3 separate regions of the Homo sapiens genome follow, and regions 1 and 2 are each linked to region 3. The links are contacts of gene promoters, found by promoter capture Hi-C in blood cells and fetal thymus (Javierre and others, 2016). All regions are on one chromosome and are shown on one strand. Each heading gives the region's core, a stretch centred on a gene start or on the middle of the fragment in contact. The rest is flanking DNA. Distances are from core to core; before and after follow the strand shown.

Evidence for each region. Contacts are between HindIII fragments. The CHiCAGO score rates a contact against its expected background, and 5 or more counts as called.
Region 1: a contact is called between a fragment that was not itself captured here and the fragment with the promoter of RYR3 in region 3, in 2 of 17 cell types (megakaryocytes and erythroblasts). The highest score is 5.8, in megakaryocytes.
Region 2: a contact is called between a fragment that was not itself captured here and the fragment with the promoter of RYR3 in region 3, in 2 of 17 cell types (erythroblasts and megakaryocytes). The highest score is 7.3, in erythroblasts.

What each region holds. Positions count from the first base shown.
Region 1 is chr15:33,479,366-33,483,378 of GRCh38, forward strand. The region is part of intron 2 of RYR3 (ryanodine receptor 3); the gene reads left to right. Among named protein-coding and RNA genes, the nearest start is that of RYR3, 170 kb to the left of the region's middle. The HindIII fragment of the contact is 1,021 bases long and covers 1,761-2,781 here.
Region 2 is chr15:33,551,258-33,555,281 of GRCh38, forward strand. All of the region lies in intron 10 of RYR3 (ryanodine receptor 3), which reads left to right. Among named protein-coding and RNA genes, the nearest start is that of RYR3, 240 kb to the left of the region's middle. The HindIII fragment of the contact is 4,816 bases long and covers 1-4,024 here.
Region 3 is chr15:33,309,061-33,313,131 of GRCh38, forward strand. It overlaps RYR3 (ryanodine receptor 3), which reads left to right and starts at 1,907. Exons shown (of 104, transcript NM_001036.6): 1 at 1,907-2,036. The coding sequence starts at 1,986. RYR3-DT (RYR3 divergent transcript) reads right to left here and starts at 1,599. Exons shown (of 3, transcript NR_120327.1): 1 at 1,518-1,599. RefSeq lists enhancers at 2,128-2,639, 2,640-3,149. The HindIII fragment of the contact is 6,631 bases long and covers 1-4,071 here.

The DNA.
Region 1 (4,013 bases), core at 1,021-3,520, 170 kb after region 3:
TAGTACATAGTATTCTCTATGGACCTGAGATCTTATGAAAGACCAGGCTATTATAAAACTTTAAAAAAAAAAAACTCCCTTATCATGTAATATGAAGAGGCATATAAGCTGAGATTTTGACTTTTTTTTTTTTTTTTAACATTTATCAGGCATCATGCGCTATGTCCCAAGTAATGCCGTGGGTGCCTACTGCTTTCATTTACTCTTTATGACTCTATAAAGCAAACATTGTCCTCATTTACAGAGAAGAAAGGTGTAAGAATTTAAACTGAGTTAAGTGACTTCATGAAGATTGTTCATTCCAAACCTGAATCACTGTCTAATTTCTGTAATATTCAGAAATAAAGAGTATCGTGGATCCAGCTTACATAAGGGTAAAGAAGGCATATTACTCCATGTAATTAGACTTCAGAAATGCCTGGGCACATCTCCATACCCCTCCCACAACTTTTCTACATCTGTCCTATGACTGTCTGGCATTCCTAAGTTAGAAATATATATTTTGCTTAAATCAAACAGGAACTAGTAAAATGCAAATGCTTTGAGTGAGCCATAAAGCAGTGTTAAATTTTTGTACAGCTAATATTTTACAATATAAATGAGAATATCATGTATTTTCTTCAAAGTAAGTTTCTAAAGGGATCTAAGGCAGATTATTATGTGCCTCTATATTGGGATAGAGGTACCCAGACATGGTAAGACTGGGGAGGAGGGGTGCAAAACATCTACTGCTTTAATTTGTGACAGTTTATCTGACTTTTCTTCTGCCTTTCCACAAGTCTGTGAGCACTGACATCAAGGACTTTTGTATAGCTCTGTATAGCACAGTGCTTAATAAACTTGACCCTGGAGTCAGACTGCCTGGACTGGTAATTCTGGCTCCAACACTTAGCTGTGTGACTGTGGGCAAATGACTTTACTGCTCTCTGCCTCAGTTTCTTCATCCTTCAAACTGTACCCATCTCATAGGATTATTATGAAGATTCAGTGACACAGGTTCAAAATTGTAATATGCTTTACAGCAGTTCCTAACACATCAGAAGTGCTATATTTAAGCAGTAGCATTTAGTATCAGCACAGGGTCATACACATATTAGGTCCTCAGAAAATGTTGATTGGCTTAGTTAAGTTGCCCATGTGTACTGAATTAACTAATTGAATTTTTGAAAGCCTGGATGTAAGAATCAGGAGGATATTTGTGACTTTTAAAAGTAAAATATTAAGGAGAGTCAGAGGGAGTTAGATAAAAAGTGTTAGTGAGTGGATGTTTTAAACAATGAATCAGTGGGATATAAGTTTTAATTGTTACTAATTTTTATTTTAATTCTGATGTGCTCAGAAAACATTCTGTGTATCACTCCAATCTTTTTCAATGTATGGAGACTTATTTTATGGCCCAGCATATGGTCTATGTTGGTGAATGTTTCAGGTGTCTTGAAAACATGGTGTGTCCTGTAGTTGTTGGATGTAGGTTTTATGGATGTCAAGATGGTCAAAAGGGGTGTTCAAATCTTCTATGTCCTTACTGAAATGTGTCTGCTGTTTTATCAATTATTGAGAGAAAGGTGTTAAAAACTATGAGGATTTGTCTCTCTTTAGTTCTGTCACTTTTGTTTCATGTATGTTAAAGCTCTGTTATTAGGTGCATGTGTATTCAGAATTTTTGTTTTTCATGATGAATTGATCCTTTTGTCATTATCAAATTGTCCTATTTGTCCTTGGTCTTATAGTATGCTTTGACTCATGCTAGTGTAGCCATAAGCTTTCTTATGCTTACTGTTTATATGGTACATCTTTTTCATCAGTTTTTTACCTTATGTATGTATTTATATCTTTATATTTAAAATGTATCCCTTATAAACAACATATAGGTAAGTACTGTTTTCCTACCCCATTTTACAATCTCTGGTGTTTAATTGGAATGTTTTATTCATTTACATTTATTGTAATAATTAGATACTCAGGTTTTAGTCTACCTTCATGCTATTCTTTTGTCTCCTCTGGATTTTGTTCTTCTGTTTCTCCTTTTTTGCCTTTAAATAAAGTAAAGTTATGACATTTTATCTTCTCTGTTGGCTTTTTAGCTCTACCTCTTAGTATTATTTTTGAATACTTTTTTTTTTGGGTTTTTTTGAGACAGAGTCTTGCTCTGTCACCCAGGCTGGAGTGCAATGATGCAATCTCAGCTCACTGCAACCTCTGCCTCCTGGGTTCAAGCAGTTTTCCTGCCTCAGTCTCCCAAGTAGCTGGGATTACAGGCACCTGCCACCAGGCCCAGCTAATTTTTTGTATATTTAGTAGAGATGGGGTTTCACCATGTTGGCCAGGCTGGTCTGGAACTCCTGACCTCAGGTGACCCACCCGCCTCAGTCTCCCAAAGTGCTGGGATTACAGGAGTGAGCCACCAGGCCTGGCCTTGAATACTTTTTTTTTTTTTTTTTTTTAGTAATTAAAATATAAATCGTTAACTTATCACAGTTTTCCTTGCATTCATATTTATACAAATTCCCTTATATCTTTTGTGCTATTATTGTCAGAGATTTTATTTCTACCCATTTAAAATGTGTAACACATTTTTATTTTTGTTTCAAAATGTCAATAGTCTTTTAAAGAAATAAAAGGGAAGAAGAACCTTTTATAAAATTAATGTATTTGCCATTTTCAGTGCTCTTTTTTTCTCTCCTCTAGATCCAGATTTCTATCTGGTAGCATTTTCCTTCAACCTGAAGGATATTCCTTAGTGTTTCTTATACTTCAGATCTGCTGGGGACAAACTCTCCAAGCTTCTTTTTCACTGAGAATGTCTTTATTTTGTCCCTGTTTTTGAAGGATTTTTCTCTGGATAAAAAATCATTATTTAGTTTTTTTTCTTCTTCTTGCAGCACTTTGAAGATGGCATCTTATTGCCCTTTTGCCTCCATTGTTTATGATGTAAAGTTAGCTCTCATTTTTATCATCATTCTTCTATATGTAACAAACCTTTTCCTCTGGAAAGTTTTAACATTTTTTTCTTTATCTTTGACTTCTAGCAATTTGGTTTTTGTTGTTGTTGTTGTTGTTTGTTGTTGTTTGAGATGGAGCTTCACTCTTGTCACCCAGGCTGGAGGGCAATGGCGCCATCTCCGCTCCCTGCAACCTCCCCCTCCCAGGTTCAAGCAATTCTCCTGCCTCAGTCTCCTGAGTAGCTGGGATTACAGGCGCAAGCCACCATGCCTGGCTAATTTTTGTATTTTTGTAGGGATAGGGTTTCACCATGTTGGCCAGGCTGGTCTCGAACTCCTGACGTTAAGTGCTCCTCCCACCTCAGCCTCCGAAAGTGCTGGGACTACAGGCGTGAGTCACTGTGCCCAGTCAGGTTTCTAGCAATCTGAATGATGTGTTTGAGGGTAGTTTTCTTTAAATTTATCTTGCCTGGATTTTGATGAGCTGAGCTTTATGGATCTTTTGGTTGTTGTTTTTCATTAAGTATAGAATTTGGGGGACATTATTTCTTAAAATATTTTATGTGCCATATTTACTCTCTCCTGGGACTCCAACTACTTATATGTTAGATTGTTTTATATTGTTCCACAGGTCACTATGACTCTATCCATTTTTTCTTCAACTATTTTTTTATCTATGCATCTGCCTGAATACTTTCCATTGACCTATTTTATATTTATTTATTCCCTTTTTTAATGTACATGTGCTATTAACCCCCTCTAATGAATTTATTTCAGGCTTTTATTTTTAAATTCTAAAGTTTGCAGTTGTTTATTTCTAAGGTTTCTGTTTATTTTCTAAGATTCTTCTTTCTCCTCCATTATTCTTTCTCCCCTTCCATTATCTCTCTCTTCTCCCATTATTCCCATTTTTTTGGTAAATTCATTAATAAATTTATAATCATTATTTAAATCCTTGACTACCAATTCAACGTCTTGAATGTCTGTAGGTCTGCTTCTAATGACTGACTTTGCTCTTGGTTATAAGTCACATTTTCCTATTTCCTTTAATATTTAGTATTTTTAAATTTT
Region 2 (4,024 bases), core at 965-3,464, 240 kb after region 3:
AATATCTCCTTTGGGAGCGTCACCTTTAGTTTCATTCTTTGCTCTTTTCCAGAAATAAATCTTGATATGTGTTCTCACCATGACTTCACTCAAGGGTTGTTGAGGATTCTGTTCATCTAGGACTAGGTGTGAGGCTGACAGCTGAATTTTCTGTGGGGCATCTCTGCTTCCTAATGCACCTGAAGAAGATAGTCAGCACTGTCCCCTTCTTTGGTGCAGGGGTTCGGAGTCTGTTTTCTCCCTCATTTTGTGCTCCTGTGGTCTTTTTAGGCAGAGAAACTCTTTGGCATGTAGTTTTTTCTCTTTAATATTGCCCTATATCAGAATTGGGCTTTTTTCATATCTTTATTTCAAATATTAAAAGACATGAGCTTCCTGTTCACATCTTCCTAACCGTCTCTCAAATGTCATCTTCCTTCTGCTTCTCTTCCAATGGCTATTGACTCTGATTTCATTCTGGTTTTCTGAGCATATCTTCCTCACTTTGCTATCATTTTTTTTTAGATTCCCAGCACAAGAGGGATTCTTTAAATTCAAATTTATATCTATTTAGTGAATATTTTTGCCTCCAGGAAGTGATTTAGAGCAGTGCAACTTTCTGAAAGATTCAGTGAAACAAAGCAACAGGAAAGTCGTAAGAACAGAGACTGGGACATGGAGTGGGAGCTGAAGGTGGGCGGCAGTAGAAGAGGGAGGTGGAAAATAAGAAATGACTCATCGTGGCTAATGACCAAGCAAGTGTTTTCCTAAGAATGCCAGTTTGGCCCTTTCCTTATTTGAGCCTTCTACCCCCTTTCTCCTTGACCCACTCGGGATATGCTGCCAGGGTTAGAGCAATGACCTCGAGGTCTTTACCATTTCAAAAAGGGGCTTTTCTTCCAGCACAGGATCAGGCGGCCTTCCAGGCAGCTGGCAGGATCCTGTTCCAAGGGGACTCTTCCATTATATTCCATTCTTGGCTCAGCCTTGTGGAGCATGGGTCAGCACTGTGCTGTGGTCTCTGGGGGAAGCAAGGAAAGCTCAGAGCCCCATAGAGACCTTGTAACACTCCTTCCACTTGGCATCACTTCTGGCCTCTGAATACATTTCCCTTCAAAGGGTCCATTGCTCATCTCCCCAAGTTCCTCCATTTCCACGTATGGAGAAGCAAGCAGCGCATGGGTGGAAAGTCGTCATGGTACCACGGGGGCCATCGGCATAGCAGAGCTGGGGGCAAAAGTCACCCATGAGTCACATTGTCCTGTGCACTTGGCAATGTGGTTACATTTCACTGGAGTCACTATGCTAGAGATTTTAAATAAGTCTCCATGCGGTAGTATTCAACCTAGCTACCTTCATTTCAATTTGAAAGGAACTGAAATTAAAATGGCTTAGGCTCTATGGCAGGCCAAGATATGGCTGTGTTCCCACTGGATGTCAGGGTTTCTTTGGGACGTTGTGTGGGCAGGGCTTTGGCACCTTAGACTGTGAAGCTGCACAATAAGGAAGAGCATGTGGAGAACACATAACTGTCATACACCATCCAAATAACTGTGGGGGAAGGGCGGTAGAAAGGCCCTGATTTTCCTGGGCTTCCATGTGCCTGCTTAGTAAGCATATTCTTGCCTTGCTTGGCACGGGCTTTCCTTAAATGCATTCTCTGTGCTTCCCCTCCCTGGGCGCTAGTGACAATACCCAGCAGAAAGAGGTTTGGGGCTCTGTTTCTCAACAATGTAAGGGCACTGAATCATCTCGCCAGCCCTTGCCTGCTACAGGTGTTATGTGACAGAGTAGGTGGCAAATGGTAGCCTGAGATAGCGGTTCAGGATCTGTGTGGTGGCATAGGAGTTGGGAAGGCTGAGGGAGTGGTGGAGACAGTCATCTGTTTTCTATGGGACTGGGGCAGAGGGCGAGGAAGCAGGGTATTCATCTGATCCTTTCCATATGTTGGAGAATCTGAAAAAGGAGAAAAAGAGGCTCTTGGGAAGAGCACTGCTGGGGCTTTAGTCATGTGTTTTGGGAGGACACTGGGTGTGCTGGGCCGTGAGTCATTTGGTAATGACGAGCTTCCCAGTCCACATTTTCTGTCAGGTTGCATTAGCTTGTGACAGTTATGACTACTAAATTAGGGGCCACTGGACAGCTGCAGGTGCGTGCTAACATCCTTAGCAGCCTGCCATTAGCAGGAAGATGGCAGGTGCCCCAGTGCATCTTGTATGTGCATAAGATGGAGGTGTGATTGAGCCTTGCTGAAAGGTGACCAAGTCCAAGAACCAACCAGCTGCAGTTATTGGCCGGGCCTGGCTCAAATGGAATCAGACTGAAGACTTTGAGCAGGCTATACAAATCACATAGAATAAGGAGCAAGGAGCAGGATGTGATCTTGATCAAGGTCCTCCTTCCCCCAACTTCAGCAGCTGATGCAACTCAAATTGGAGAGCTAGGATGTAGTATTACTTCCAAAATACAGCATCCCAGCCTTATCCCTTTGATCTGAGAGTGGTGTTGTGTAAGACAAAGCCTGGCTTCAAAGTTAGCCTAGATCGGGCCTTGATTCTCATCTGCTCTCTGTGAGACCTGGAACACAATTCTTCATCAATTTGCACCTCATTTGAAGTCTGTCATAAAAGATCATTCAGACCTGACTGCTGCCTGCCCTTCCATTGCGTCTCTTGCCACTTGCCTGAGGTTGCCTTGAGCTCCGGCATACTATTTATCAGTCTTGGAACATATTTGTTTTTTTCTAACCACCACCAAACTTGTGCCTGAACGCCTTTTGCCCCTCTGCACTCTACCACAGTGAGCGCCTTCTCATGCTTTCAGGCGAGTGTCAAGTGCTCTTTGTGAGAGGAAAACCTGCTCATGCATTATTAAGGCCATCACTTCCTTGACTGGGAGGCCCTGGATGACAAGGACCACACATACCCCACCCTGCTTTATTTTTGCATCCCAGAACGTCTTGTAGTAAGTTTGAAAAATGCTTGCTGAAGGGTTACATCAGTGTGGTCATACCTTGAAATAGAGTGAAATCCATTTCATTCTAACCTCCATTATCTTTTTTTTTTTTTTTTTTTTTGAGGTGGAGTCTCGTTCTGTTGCCCAGGCTGGAGGTACAGTGGTGCGATCTCGACTCACTGCAAGCTCCGCCTCCCGGCTTCACGCCATTCTCCTGCCTCAGCCTCCCGAGTAGCTGGGACTACAGGCACCCACCACCACACCGGGCTAATTTTTTTGTATTTTTAGTAGAGACGGGGTTTCACTATGTTAGCCAGGACGGTCTCGATCTCCTGACCTCGTGATCCGCCCGCCTCGGCCTCCCAAAGTGCTGGGATTACAGGCGTGAGCCACTGTGCCTGGCCAACCTCCATTATCTTTACAGAAACATCCTGCCATCCTTGTGTAATCATTTTGCTACTGTAATCTCTTCCCAGTACACACCCAATGAGAGAGATTCATTTTATTTTGAACATCTAAGTCAAATTTCTATGAACTTGATTTCACATCATTTTTCCATGGTCTTGACATTGCAAGGCCATTCCCACAAGGATTTCAGATAATGTGATTTAATATTTACTCCTGCACGGCAGTATTGTCTGTTTAGATGTCATGACTCAATGTCAGTTTACAGCATTGAATTTTTTTCAGGGAAGGGTGAATTAATAATGTTAAAGCAGGCCATATATATAGCCGCTTTTTGTAAAGCCACTTTAGAAGTGCTTTAAATAGCCACTTTAAATGACTACACCATACATCTTGAATGATTGGGATAGATTCTCGAATGTTGCCTATTTCATAGTGTAAGGGTATAGAGCTATCACTGTTCCCAATTAGAGGAAATTTTTTCTCACAGTATAAAAACATTAAATTCAGTTTAGTAAACATTTGTGAAACATCTATGTGCTAAGCATGGTGTTCTTGGCCAAATGTGACTTCCCTGCCTACGTTTCACATGCCCTTTAACCTTTGCAGCCACAGCACCCCTAACCAAGGTGACAGCTGTGCTCATGGTGCACCTGTCTCTGAAACTCTGGTGCAGAAACAGCGC
Region 3 (4,071 bases), core at 657-3,156:
TGAGATTATAGGCGTGAGCCACCGTGCCCACAGGTACTCAAGCACTTGCATGTGATCAAGATGGAGAAGAGCTGACTTTTGCAGTTCACGTGGGAGGAAAAAAGTAAATCTAGAAATTCTAGTTAACTCCAAACACAGTGAGTGTCATTAGTGTTTCTCCAGAAGCCAATCCAATATTAGGCTGCACATAAAGACTGTCCAAAACAAGGACGGAGAGCACAACAATTCAGGAAGAAGACCACCTGGAATGCTCATATGGCCATCAAAGATGACATAGGCTCTGGAAACTATACTACAGGGAAAGTTGGGGCTAAGAAGAACCTTGAGCCAGGAGAAGAAAAGAGTGGATGGTGGGCCATAGAGGCAAGCATGGCAGATGCCTTCTAAGAGGTGAAGGGCCACAATGTACAGATGGTTTGACTTATTCTAGGCGGGTTTCAGAAGAGGCACAAGGCCCAAGCTGAAGCCTAGAAGGTAGCAGTTTGAGTACAATACAAGAAAAAAACATTTTTCTTTGCATTTCTGATGTTCATCAGAACATATGGGACGGAAGCTCAGGAAAGAGATCTTAAGGTAGCATCAAGAGATAGATGTCGTCCACAAGGAGGCGGTATATGAAGCTGTGAAATGGCTTGGGGTTTCCAGTGTCTTCCACCATCATCAGCCCAGAATTACCACCTTCCCAGTTGCACTTCCTCCTAAATCTACATCTCTGGTGCCTTTTGCCTTGAACAGTCTCTTGCCTTGGAGCTTCTCGGCCATCAAACAGAAGGGGGCACCCTGCACCGTCAGTCAAGGCAAGGACCAATCTGGCAATCCCCAACCATGGAAAAGGACCTAAGGCTGGGTGGGATGTAGGAGCCTTCCAGGACCTGGAAGGGAGCCTCCTGTAACTACTCTCTACTCCCTTTAGAGTCCACAGGGCTGGAACTCTAAATGCAGAATAAGGTTAGGGGTGGGCAGAGAGGAAGGGTTGTGATGCCACCTGACTTCCAAATTGAGGGTGGCACAGGATCCCCCAGAAGCTCCCTGGGGTACAGAAGTCACAGCAACCCTGGACAATCCAGGGGTTTGGTAAAGTGTACTTACCAATTTTGAAGAGGGGAAGGGGTTCTCTTAAGGTGTAGAAAGGACTATCCAGGGAGTTGCAAACTTTGTTGTAAGTGGACAATCACCCTCGCTCCTCACTGCACCGTCTTCTCCTTGCCCAACAATGCACGCGGGTCCTAGCAAGGTATTCGAGTCCAGATCTCTCTCTCTCTCTCTCTCTCTCTCTCTGTCTCTGTCTCTCTCTCTTTCCTCTCTCTGTCTCTCTGTCTCTGTCTCTCTCTTTCCTCTCTCTCTCTCTCTGTCTCTGTCTCTCTCTTTCCTCTCTCTCTCTCTCTATCTCTGTCACACACACACACACACACACACACACACACACACACACACAGGCAAAGTGGGCAAAGCGGGCAAAGCGAGCAAAGCGAGAGGGTTGGTACCCAGTCTGGGCGCGCTGGAGCTAAGCAACTGGCCTTTGTTTGTGAATTGGAGCAGTTTAGGGGACATCCTCCGGTCGCCGCGGGGCGCGCGCCTCCGCTGAGTGTGCGGTGCGGTACCCAGCGGTGCGGGGGAGGCTCCACCGCGCCAGCCCAGGGCCCCCGCACCGCCCCCGCCAGCTCGACGCGCCCAGCGTTGCGCTCTCCACGGAGCGGGCGGCCGCAGCGCACTTGGCTGGGGCGAGAGGCGAGAGGGGTGGGCGGACTGCTTGGTTGGCGTTGGCGCTCTGCAGTGCAGTGGAGTGTTAGCCCAGCTCCCTATATGGTCGGGGATTAGCTTGGCGCTGCTGAGGCTGAGGCTGAGCCAGGAGCTGGAGGAGGAGGTGGAGGACGAGGACGAAAAGGAGGAGGAGAAAGAGCGCAGCAGCAGTCAGCGCACGCCGAGCGGCTGCCGGGGGAAGCAGAGGCGCCGGAGGCTGGGGCACCGCCGACGCCTCGGGAGCCATGGCCGAAGGGGGAGAAGGAGGCGAGGACGAGATCCAGTTTCTGAGGACTGTGAGTCTCCGCGGCGGGGGCGAGGCCGTGGGCAGGTGGGGAGGAGCGCGGAGCGCGGCGAGGAGGGGCTGGCTGCGCTGCGCCGCGGTGCCGGGTGCCCGGTGCCGGGCGCTTTCTCCGCACCCGCGGGCTGCAGAGGCGGACCGGCCACCTACCCGCGGGGCCGCGAGGGGCTGCGTGGGAAGGGGCACCATCTCCTGCCTCTCCCTTGTTCCCCTACCGCCACCCCTGCCCCAGGCCCTCCACCTAGGACCGCTCGCTCTCCAGGCAACTTGCTACTTGGTCTGAAACCCTTGATGCCCAAACTTCAGCCGGGGTTTGTTCGCGGTTGTCCTGACCCATAAGATCGGCGTTGGAAGCCCTCGCCCCGGGGTCGGCCCTCTGACACCTCCATACTCCACCCCAGCCCCATTCCTCTTCCAGGGCGCCCCCACGCACAGGGGAACCTCCGGGAAGGAGCCAGCGGGGCAGGGGGGAGTGTGGGGAGCCGGGTCGGAGAAGCGGGCGCAGGCGCTTGGTCCTAGCCCTGGGATCGCTCGGAGGGGAATTCACCCAGCGCTGCCCCTCTCGTGTTAAGCCCCACGCCGGCAACTGCTGCTGGAGCCTGACTTGACTGACTGCCTGTCGTGTGTTCGAGAGCTGTGGCTTCTGCTCCTGGCTCCCGCGAGCCCCGCAGGACAGGGAAACCCCAGTCAGTGGCTCCGCGTCACTCAGGTCCCCTCCTTGACACCTGAGGGCGCTGCTCCGTCCCAGATTTGGGGGTGAGGGGGCGAAGTCTGTTGCAGCCACACCAGCCTTGCCCTGTAGGAGATAATACAAAGACTTTCAGGGTGGACGGCCACCCGGAGGGGTGGGGGCATTGGGGATGCATCCTAGCGCTGACTTCAGCCAAGTGACCTTGAGCAAGTCGCATAATCCGCCCTACTCAGCCTCAGTTTCCTCATGTGTAAAATAAAATGTAACCAGCGTTTCAGGGTGATAAGGATTAAACGTTATCGTGAATGTCATAATGTTTTGTAAACGGCAAATCGCTCTGTAAATCTTAGGTAATTTTATATGCGCTGCCTTGCTCTCAGGAATTAGAATGAAATTCTTTCTTTCCCTCTCTCACTTCCCTTTAAGGGTGCCCCCTTCTCCATGACCTGGTCTTCGAAGATCACAACTTACCTCTTGTCCATCTTTTGAACCACTCTCCTCCTGTTGAAGCGCTTCCTTCCAATTTACTTCAGTTTCTCTTCCAAACATGGTTCTTTTGTCAAAGCTGGGACTTGGGTCTTATTTGGGGGGGGTATGGAAGTACCTATCGCCCTGCTGGTACTACTGAGAGGCTAGAGTATTCATCTCTTCATCCTTCGTCTGACCTGCAGACCCAGACTCCATTCTCATCTCTCACACTGCACACAAGATGGCCCCACAGTTGCAACTCATGACAACCCTATTGTTATAAAGCTGCCTGCTCCCCTCAAAGCTCCATCAAATCCTTTGGTTGTCCCTCTGACAGGTGTCTTTAGTAGTGGATGGGTGGCAGCTCAGGTTTTTTCTGCCTTGTGTCCTCCATGATCAGTCATTTCTTCTCCTTATTATTAATGATCTTCTAGGCGTTATTGCTTGAAAAAATTATCTTCAGACAGGGTCAGTGTTGAATAGATGTCCCAGGGAGTTGAGGCTTAGGAAGGTGGTAGTTGTTGTGAGATCCTTATGCTTTTCTCTTGGCTTCTGAGCCATCTTCCCTGACTTTTCCTCTCCATCTGGCATTGTAAGTGTTTTTTGTTTTTGTTTGTTTTTGGTACACCTGTAGCCAAGGTTTACTATAGTAGTGGTTCTTAAGTTTTGTGTCCTGGGCTTCCTGCCCTAGAGATCAGAGCTGGCAGACCTCTTTTAAAGTACACCCATGACAGCCTGTGGGGTTCAAGGACCCAGGTTCAGAGCCCCTGTTGCAGAGAACTGCATACCGGTTATGGCTTAGAGCGAGTGATGGTGGTAACCATGGGGGCAGTGACTCCAAATGTGGCGTTATTGGTTCTTTTCCTTCTAG